Regions from separate parts of the Homo sapiens genome. Here region 1 is linked to region 2. Evidence: promoter capture Hi-C in 16 types of primary human blood cells and fetal thymus (Javierre and others, 2016). All regions are on one chromosome and are shown on one strand. The core of a region is centred on a gene start or on the middle of the fragment in contact, and the rest is flanking DNA. Distances in the headings are between cores, read along the strand shown. Region 1 overlaps PKP4 (plakophilin 4). Region 2 holds the start of FLJ46875 (a long non-coding RNA gene).

Region 1 (4,808 bases), core at 1,195-3,694, 2.1 Mb after region 2:
GAGGGAAGTAAAAAGCATCCCAAATCAGAAATTAGGAGATCTGCCATTAAACCTTATTACCTTGACAAACCATTTAATGTTTGGATGATAGCTTCCTCCTTTTAAAAATACAATTTGGATTATATTGATCTAAGTTATATTTTAGCTCAAGATTCCTGAAGTTCACAGTGGTTTTTAAAAATTTTTCTTAAGAAAAAAAAAAGAACAAAAAACTTTTCCAAGCTTGAATATACATAATCAGCCCTGTTTCCCCTTGTACCTCAAATCATGGCAACAAGGAAGTTGAATTTCTCTTTTGAGACTTTTGAACCTTCTTCACATTCATTTTTAATTGTTTTGTTTTAAAACAATATCATTTTGGGAAGTGAGGGGAAGGGATGAAGCACATGTTTTCAAAGTCTTGCTGTCTGCCTCTACCCTAGTCTGAGATTACATATGGTAGTTTTGGCCAGGGAAAGTGCTTGGGATTTCACCTTCATACTCAGTGAGGCTCATGAAGTGTCATTAAGGTAGTGAGGTGTCATGATTAGCAGCCTTACTGTCAGGGTCCAATTCTGGCACTGCAACTTGCTGGCTGTGTAACCTGGCAGATTGTATAATCTCTGTGGTCCTCGTTTTGCTCATCTGTAGGATGGAGTGATAAAAGTACCCACTTCATATGGTTGTTGGGGAGATTAAATGAATTAATACATGTAAAGTGCTTACAACAGGAGCTGGTTCAGAGCCAGCGCTTAATACATTGAAATAATTATTTTTACATTGTGGTGCTTTTATGATGGTTTCTGCAGCATTTACCAAATGCCAGGGAAATTATTGGCTTGCTTTCTGTGTGGGTTTTGTCAAAATGATTATGGATTTCAACAGGATATTTCAGAGAAGAAATAAACTGCTGAACAGAAACCATTGTGAGCTTGATAGTTTGCAGGACATTGTAGAAAAGAGAATCCAGCACAGTAATTAAGGGCCTTTTTAAGTAGGGAAGTTGTAGCTTCTTGCGGTAGGCAATACTTAGAGAGGCATTAACCACCGCTAGCCAACAAGTATAGGAGAATGTATACAATTATTGCGTTTGTAATCCCAGGTAGTAGTCATTTTATAAAATGTCTTTGCTAGTCAGTACATGAATAAAGCGTTAGAAAGTGTTCATCATTTAACACCATTTGCCCAAATGCAGCTTGTAAATTAACTCTTTAAGCTGGCTTTTCTGTCTGAAAGTGATCACAGTTGAAAAAAAAAAAAAAAAGGATATTTGAAATCAGCAGGAGACTCCCAAATCAAGAAAGGCTAGAAAAGAGGAAGGGGGTTTGGAATATACATGATATAAATCAACAGACAGTGGTTAAATAGATATCAAGAGGCTCTAGTTCTAGTCCTGGCTTTGCCACTATGCAGGTGTGTGTCCCATGAGCACATCATGTAACTCTCGTGGGCTTTAGTTTTCTTGTCTATAAAATGAGGGAGTTGGTCTAGATGCTCTCTAGAGTCCCTCTAGTACTTACATTTCGCAACTCTTAGAACATCAAGCCATTACATTTTTTCCTCAGCAAGAATATGCTGTCTTCCCAAGGATTTATGACAATTTACCCTCTGGGATAAGGAGGGAAAATTGAAGTTGTATACTTGAAATTCTCAGCTCCTGAAAATATGTGTCGCAGCCAGACAAACCTGTGACCCCTCTGTGGCTGAGTCAGTGGCTCCGTGTCTTGTGCGGTAGTGGTGAAGTGCTCCAGGAGTGAGGATCCCTGGGGCCCCTCGGGGCAGGAGCTGAGCAGTGAGCCTTTATGGAGCTGCACATCTGCAGTTTGTCACAGCCCTGACTTCTGGGACTTACTTGTCTACAACCAGTCCCCTGTGCACATTGGAGGCTTCACCTCTGATTGAGACTACATTTTTCAGAAGTTGGATAGAAACAAGAAAGGGGATTTAGCATGGTGGTTAGAAGGGACTAGTCTTGTTACAGTGAGAAAGATCCACTTCTTACTTGCTCAGATGGTTTGATTTGTCCTCAGAGAAGTTAAACAACTGACAGAGTTGCTCCTCTGAAAACATTTTGTATGAATACTTTAGGTTCATAGGGAACTCGTCAATCCATATCTCATAGAATAGAGGGACTTTTCATTCAAGTCTAATTTTTACATATAGACAATCTACCAGTGTTCAGAAATTGTGGCAGATTTCATGAGGAGAATTTTTTACTTGGATTTGTGCTCTTCTATAAAAAGTAATTTAAAAATTCAGTGATGAAAGTTTCTCCTAGACCCTGTTCTCTTCCTTTGTGGAGAAAAAAAATCCGTATAGAACTCTAGTATGTATTTATCTATAAAACAATTGTTTAAAAATATTGAGGTTAGCTCTTCCCCTTTGCTAATGCAATAAGCACATTATTTGCAAAGGGAAGCATTAATTATACTACTATTGTATGCAGTATTAAATGAATTGTCAATGTCACGATCAAAATAAACCCTTGAAGAACTGGCTGTTGTTCCCATACCTTCATGAGAATTGTAAACACTCATGTAAAATAGAAACCATTATTTACCACTTTGCAGTGAAATGGATCATGTGTTCTGACACCTGTACCCTGAGTTGAGTGGGAAACAGGGACTGTTTGATGAATTAAAGGTAACTTTATTCCTGTATACCACTAGGGGTGCAAGTGAGGGGACTGTAGACAATTAGTACTTTAGATATTTGTTGGAGTCCTGCTGTGTGTGCAGTATTGTGTTTCATTTTGCATACTTATTTAAAACGATACTACTTATTTGAAATGATTCATTTTAGTTCATTTTAACCAACATTTTTTAGTCCCCTACTCCATATCAGACTGATAGGCCTTATGGCCAAAAAGATGACTTCCTCCAGGGATACTTACTGTCTGTGTTAGATTCAGTAATGGGAGTCTCGGTCTTTAAGGAATCCATGATACATTTTTCAGTCTGGTTGGGAAAGATAAGACACATGAGGTAGAGAAGATTGTCCTAGAAATGTTGGTATATAAATAAGCATGTAACATTGTTTCATAAGTATTAAGGATGAGCTATAAAATAACTAGGTTGTAGCTCATACTTCTACTTGCTTAATTGTGTATTACATGATAAATTACCCGATTCTAGAGATATGCACTAACCACTCTCATTAGCTTTCTTTGGGAAAAGTCTGCACCAAAGATAAATAGTGATTTCAAAATAAGTTTTAATCATGAACTTGATTATTTTGGCTGTATCTCTTGAAACACTTTACCATATAGCCTATGTGAAATAATTAATCATAATGACAATACATGATTTATGAGAAACCATAATTTATGCTGTAAGACCTGCCATTTTATTACATTCTTATTTTTATTTTTCATGCAGCAGTATTTTCGTTTATTGTGTTTTGTGCTTTTCTTTTATTCTCTATGTAATTTGTGTGCCTTTATAAGCCCAAACTTGCTGTTGAAAATATTCCCTCCCATTGTTATGAATAAACAGAATGTTTCAAAATCTCTCGTGATGTATGCTAGAATAAATGGTCTCATTGAATCTTACTTTGAATCTCAGAATGATGCACTGATGGGAATTTTTCACTTACTGTCATTTTGTCGACAACTACATAAGCAGTAAGTCTGTTTAAAAAAGGCACTGACTAAGGAATCACAAAATCCAACTGGACTTCACAAGAACTATTAATACTATTAGTCTGAGACCTGTGATAAACAACTCAGATGTTAAAGGTCTAATTCAGACTGTCAACAGATGAAAAATAAGTGTCAGTCTGAAATCTTCGGATAGTATATCGGCAAGTGTCAGTCTTCCAAAATATTATTTAGAACTGTGAATATAATTTTTCACAGAAGCAACATTAATCCATAAATCTCCCGTCCTGTAGTGTAACTATAGTATATCAGTTCCATGGGAAAATAGTCCTGCTCTAAGCTACTCAACAGCAGGGACTTTATCTTTCTACAGGACTTAAATCTTGACCTCCAGTGGTTCTACATACCTTAAGTGAATGAATGAGTTTGAATTCTAGTTTTGAACACCTTCACCTGCTACTCTTGGATAATCGTGTCTGTTTGTGCCTAGTACCTATCCTCTGTCCTTTTGTAAACTGGTCTGAGACCCTGATACCATTTATCCTGCATGTTTCAAAGGAAAAAACTATTTAGACTTTAAAAAAATGCTTTTCTAATACAACTTGCTAGATAAATAATTCATTATACCAAATTCCTTAGTAAAGAAATTAACGGCTGGGTGCAGTGGCTCACACCTGTAATCCCAGCACTTTGGGAGGCTGAGGCAGGTGGATCACTTGAGATTAGGAGTTCAAGACCAGCCTGGACAACATGGTGAAACCCCATCTCTACTAAAAATACAAAAAAAAAAAAATTAGCCAGGCGTGGTGGCGGGCGCCTGTAGTCCCAGCTACTTGGGAGGCTGAGGTGAGAGAATCACGTGAACCCGTGAGGCAGAGGTTGCAGTGGGCAGAGATTGCACCACTGCACTCCAGCCTGGGTGACAGAGCGAAACTCCATTTCAAAAAGAAATTAATTAGAAGATTTTAAACAGATTGGTTCATATTCATTTTAAACTTAATTGCCTGGATTATAACCATAGTGAGATGAGTTTTCATAATGCTCTTTATCATACTACTAATAGGCACCAATCAAGCACCAAGACTAAGCTAAGCTTTGAAAGTGTGATATTGAGCAAACTTTCTGTATCTGTACCTTTTGTGAATCAGTAATATCTTTGTATACTCAGTTGAAGAGTTAAGACAGAAGTAGATATAATTTAAAGCACATGAAGTTTTTCAAAGGGGAAATG
Region 2 (4,985 bases), core at 2,308-4,807:
AGATTAATTAAAGAAACCCCTGTCAATCTTCAAAGTAAGGACAACCAAAGTCAAATTTTATATGGTATTTACATGGCACCCATGCTAACCCAGATAAAAACAAAAGCTGTATACAGTCGAGAATAAAAGGCTGTTTCCTGCTTGGCTGGTTAAATATTTACAGACTGGCAGTTAAAAAAAATTCTTAAATGAAATACCATAAAACAGAGAAACAAGTTTCCAAATGCAACAACGTGGATTTTGCATTTGAAAAGCCAACAGGGCAAGTGCAATGGGGCACTATACTCTTTCCTGGTTGTTCCTCTCAGCCACACTCACTTGAATGAAGAGTTCTATGAGAGGCCTAATGCCTATCCATAGCTGTCCCATGTTACCCTGAGAAAAACAGACACCTGGCCAATCTTAAATATTTTAAATTTATTCGGGAGTAAAAATAAGAAAGCGGCTAGGATTACATCACAGTTAAAATTATTTGGCATGGGGAATATACCTAATTCAATAGTCATTCTTCATTCAGTTAGAATAAACATGCCCACTCAAGATAAAGGCTGAAAACCAGCAGGCAACCAGAAACACTGGTGAAATTTTTCTTGGACAACACAAACATATTTTCAAAAGTTTTCATATTCAGACTAATTCTCAGATTAGCAATATGGAGGGGCACTATTGAAAGGAGGAGGTGAAGTTGAGAACTCAAAAAATAGAAAGTGATTCCCTGTAGATAGTAACAATTCTAGTACTTTCTGACTGTAGGGTTTCCCTTGGCAGCCAGCCACCTCATTTAGAGTAACAATGGACATCCATCAAATCTTCATTTAAAATAAAAGTCATGCTGCAAGATACATATTTTATTTTTGTTGCCATATATATATACCAAAAATATACCTACTTATGTCTACAAAAGGGCCCAAGATTATTAATGAAATATATGTAAGCCTATAACTTGAGGAACAGCAAATCGTGCGGCTTGGGATTTTATTTACTAATGGACTTCAATTGTGAAATGAAGCACAGCAGGACTTTCGGCCTGGCTTTTGAAGAAGGAACACTTTAATAATCACTGGGCCTGACAAGACTGCAATATCTGTTCATGACAATAACAGCTTTATAAAGCAAGTTCTGTGTGACTGATTAAAGGACACACTCACCGCCTATTCACAAGTCATGGAGATGGAGTCATTATTGACAAGCTCACCATCACTACTGATCACATTTAAGACACATCGAGTGCTGGTGCTACAAAGAGAAATAAAACCTCAGCCATTAAAAGATTTAAAAAACAGCCCCAGAAGACAAGATTGCCATAACTTATGTATATCTTAATGTGTTCTGTATAAGATTTTCTCCTATATACACACACAAAGGATCTTATTTGATAATAATTATCAAAATTATCGAACTAAAGCACTAGGTAACAAATCAGCCACTACAAAGGAAAAAAAAAAGGAGAAGCATCGTCTTATAATTTCACAATAATTATGAAAGGACATGATATATAGACAAACTTTCAAAATGTTAACACTTTCCGAAACTTGACATGACTGAAAGTAAATACTTTTTCAGACTGTTCATGTCTATCTTAGGCATTCTGCTAGTCATTAGTTTACATGAATTAATGTTTACATAGTGCCAGAAGCAAAAAGTTTTAAAAGTATGTCTCTACCTTTCAGATATCCCTTAGTAGGTAAAAGTAAACATAAAGTTTAGAAATTCTAGTAAGTTATTTTACTTTTTGCCCTTAAAGTATTGTCTTCCCGTGTGATCTATCTGTATTAGTGAATAGAAAATAAAGGATACAGTAAGACAACCACGTTTATAATCTGAAATTAAAGGCAATCAATTAAAACATTTTATTAGTCACCAGGATATTTAAAAATGAGACCTGTGAAATATTGCAGAATCACTCCACTAGGAGAGAAGCAGCAACTTAAGTATGCTGTCACTGACATGTTGGGAGGAAAAAGCAAACTACCAGTACCACCATGTACATGATTCAAATTAAGCTACATAAATAGTGAGTGCATGGGGTTGTGGGTACAGAAACTGGTTCGCTGAGGAGGTGCTACTTACATTTCCTGTATTTCATATTTCTGAGAACTGTCTTCTGTAATTTCCAAAGTGTAGGAATGGTTGAAGTTTGAAAATAAATGGAGAATTTCAAATAGTTAATGAATAGATTTAGGAGCTATACTGAAACAACTAGCAGAAAATACATTTTCTGGAGTTCTTTAATTTTGTACGCTTAAAAGTATGGTGTTCCTAAAGATGGCTAATTCTTGTTGAAGTAAGTAGCTCTGGAAGTCATATTTTCCATTTCTCCATACTTCATCTATTAATCAGTTGACTGGCAATTTCCGACACCAGTTTTGCTAAACTTTATAAATTTTGCTTCCTCCAGAGGTAGGAGGGGGAAGGAGATGGGCAATACAGAAACAGATTTTACAGCCAGAATATGACAGGGCCCCTTAAACTACAAATAGATGTAGAATTTTAAATGTAGCTCTGTAGTTCAATTTATACCACAGAAATTGCGAGATGCTATCTTCCTGTTGTTATAACGTATCAGGTCAAGGGATATAAATTGTACCAGGTAATTCATTTTGCTGTTCAGAGAGTCATTAAGTTCCTCCCAGAATATATGTGATTGATATCCCTGGAGGTGAAAGGCTAAAGGAACCATATGGCAACATGTTGCATTCCGTATGCTATCTGCCCATCCGTGCTTAAGCTGTCATTAGCAACATCTGTACCTTACGGAAATCCAGCTGCGCCGACGACGGCTGACGGAATTGTACTTGGGGGGAAAATCTAGCTTAGCGCCATTAACTTGAGACTTAGAGTCTATCTACCAGGACGGATGGAAGCTTTCACAATTAGACGAGACGACACGAATGCTTTATTAAAGTTTAATTTTGAACTCCCAATTAGCGAAAGTGCATTACAAATCGATTGCAATTTCCTAGAAGGTGCAGCAAGTTCTCTGCCTGCCTGCCACGTGCGAGACGCTCCACAGCGAGCTTCCCCAGCTCCGGGCAGCAGAAAGGGGATGGTTCAGAGCCGATCTCCGCATCCCAGGAAGTCCCTAAAATCCGCGCCAGCCCCTCCTCCCGCAGGGCGGGGGCGTCCACGGCGCGAACCCGCCAGAGGTGTAGGGGGAAGTGTGGGGGGCTGGTCCGCAGCCTTCGAGGGGTGGGGCGACAGGAGCGAGCGGCCGGGGGAGGAGAAAAAGGCGGGCGGCGGGAGAGGGGGCCTCTATTATCTCGGCTTCTCGGGAGGAGCCTCATCTAGTCAGTCACGCAGAAGTTTCTCTTTCGCTCTTCGCGCTACACACCCAGATTGGCTTCCAGCGCGCAGGCGAGTGGGGCGAAGGAGGGGGGACAGGAGTCCCGGAAGGGCCGTCCGGCGTTCACACCCACCCCTGTTCCGCTCCTCCCGCCCCAAACAAAGTCCCCCGACTCTAGGTCCAGGATACGTTACCTGCCCGGCGCTCCCGGCCCCTCGGTCACCGCATCCCCCGCTGGGCGCGCCTGGTACGGGTCCCGCTCCCCGGGGCTCACAAAGTGGTCGCCCCTGGCTGGGCGGCTGGGTAGATGCCCCTCTCTGGACATGTTGGGGCGGTTTTTGGGGTGGAGGGAACGCGGGAAGTGAAAGCGGAGGCTGGGACAAGGGGAACTTACTGATAAAATGGAAAAAAAAAAAGCCCACAGGGCCCAGGTCCTGGCCGGGGGCGAAAGAGGCCTGTTACCTTTCGGGGGGTCGCGGCCGACCAAGAAGGGAGCCGGGGAGTCGCCCGCCCCCCTCCCCCGGCCCCCGGCCCCCGGCCCCCGGCGGCTGCGGCAGCTGCACACAGAAGCCCATTGTCGCCGGCGTCCGGCGCGCAGCCCCGCGGACTCGGCCCCGCGGCCAAGCGCGTCAGCGGCCCCGTCAGCCGGGCCGGGCTCCGTGACGCGCGCGCAGCCCGCGCTATAAATAACCTGCCGCCGGGCGGCTCGGGCGGCTTTCCAGTGACGCTGGGGCGGAGGCGCGGTAGGAGGAGGGCGAAAGGAAACAATAAAACCGCCCGGCAGCCTCCCAAGTCTCCCTCCTCCCTTCCCAGGCCGCCCGCGGCCCTTCGCGTCGAGCTCCTTTTTCCCCGCCCCGGCCCGCCCTGCGGGGAGCGCGGTTCGCGGGTGGGAAGGAGCCCGGCGTGCTGGCGTCCCCGAGTGCTGCCGGGGCCCCGGGGCGGGAGGGGGTTTTTCCCGCACCCTGGGATGGCGAGGAGGGAACTTGGCGACAAGTTTAGTGAGGGGATCGCTGTGTTCCTTTCTAGTCCAGTTAAAATGACCCGAGCTTTTCCCGCTCCCTCACACACCTATTCTAGTACAGGTCGGATGTGTTTTTGGGGTAGTAAGTCCTCAACCGAAAACAAAAGCGAAAAACCTGTCGTCTTCAACGTAAGCATTATCTAGGTTTTTGTGGGGCCAGGCTTGCATTAGTGTTTTCATTCGGGGGGTTGTATTATAGAAAGGGTGCCCCGTAGTAGCAGCGTGAGGAAGGGTTCCAGGACCCAGGCTGTCAGCTCCGGTGCATTTACAGGTCTTTTTGCCGTAGAATTTAGCATAGGCCTGAAACATGGCATAAATGAACTTTCTAAAAGTCTATAATCTCAACGTTAAAGAGCTTACTTTTTAACTCTGGACTTTAATAAAGGCTCCCACTTTAAAAGGGGCTTTCTCTATAGGAAAGTATTAATATTTTTGTGGAGACTCTCACTGCTACCTTCCATACTCAGGCAATTCTGTCACACACCCTGACACTTGTCCTACTCATTAAGGTACCCACATACAACTGGAGGTAATCTGTTTTCTTGGACCAACAATTAATAGACTATAAAACTGTATTTCGTCTTGAGCAAAATGTCTCAGCTATGAACATGTTTTCTGAGGTTCTGATATAGACATAGATAAAAATTTGCAGATGCAAGCAAGGTGTTGCAGTGACTTGGC

What was found. Contacts are between HindIII fragments. The CHiCAGO score rates a contact against its expected background, and 5 or more counts as called.
Region 1: a fragment that was not itself captured here is called in contact with the fragment with the promoter of FLJ46875 in region 2 in 1 of 17 cell types (activated CD4 T cells); the score reaches 5.5 in activated CD4 T cells.

The regions. Positions count from the first base shown.
Region 1 is chr2:158,462,186-158,466,993 of GRCh38, forward strand. The region is part of intron 1 of PKP4 (plakophilin 4); the gene reads left to right. Among named protein-coding and RNA genes, the nearest start is that of PKP4, 7.6 kb to the left of the region's middle. The HindIII fragment of the contact is 4,448 bases long and covers 221-4,668 here.
Region 2 is chr2:156,338,563-156,343,547 of GRCh38, forward strand. FLJ46875 (a long non-coding RNA gene) reads right to left here and starts at 3,558. Exons shown (of 1, transcript NR_147695.1): 1 at 1-3,558. RefSeq lists enhancers at 2,463-3,018, 3,019-3,572, 4,780-4,839 and silencers at 3,120-3,219, 3,760-4,369. The HindIII fragment of the contact is 3,407 bases long and covers 2,863-4,985 here.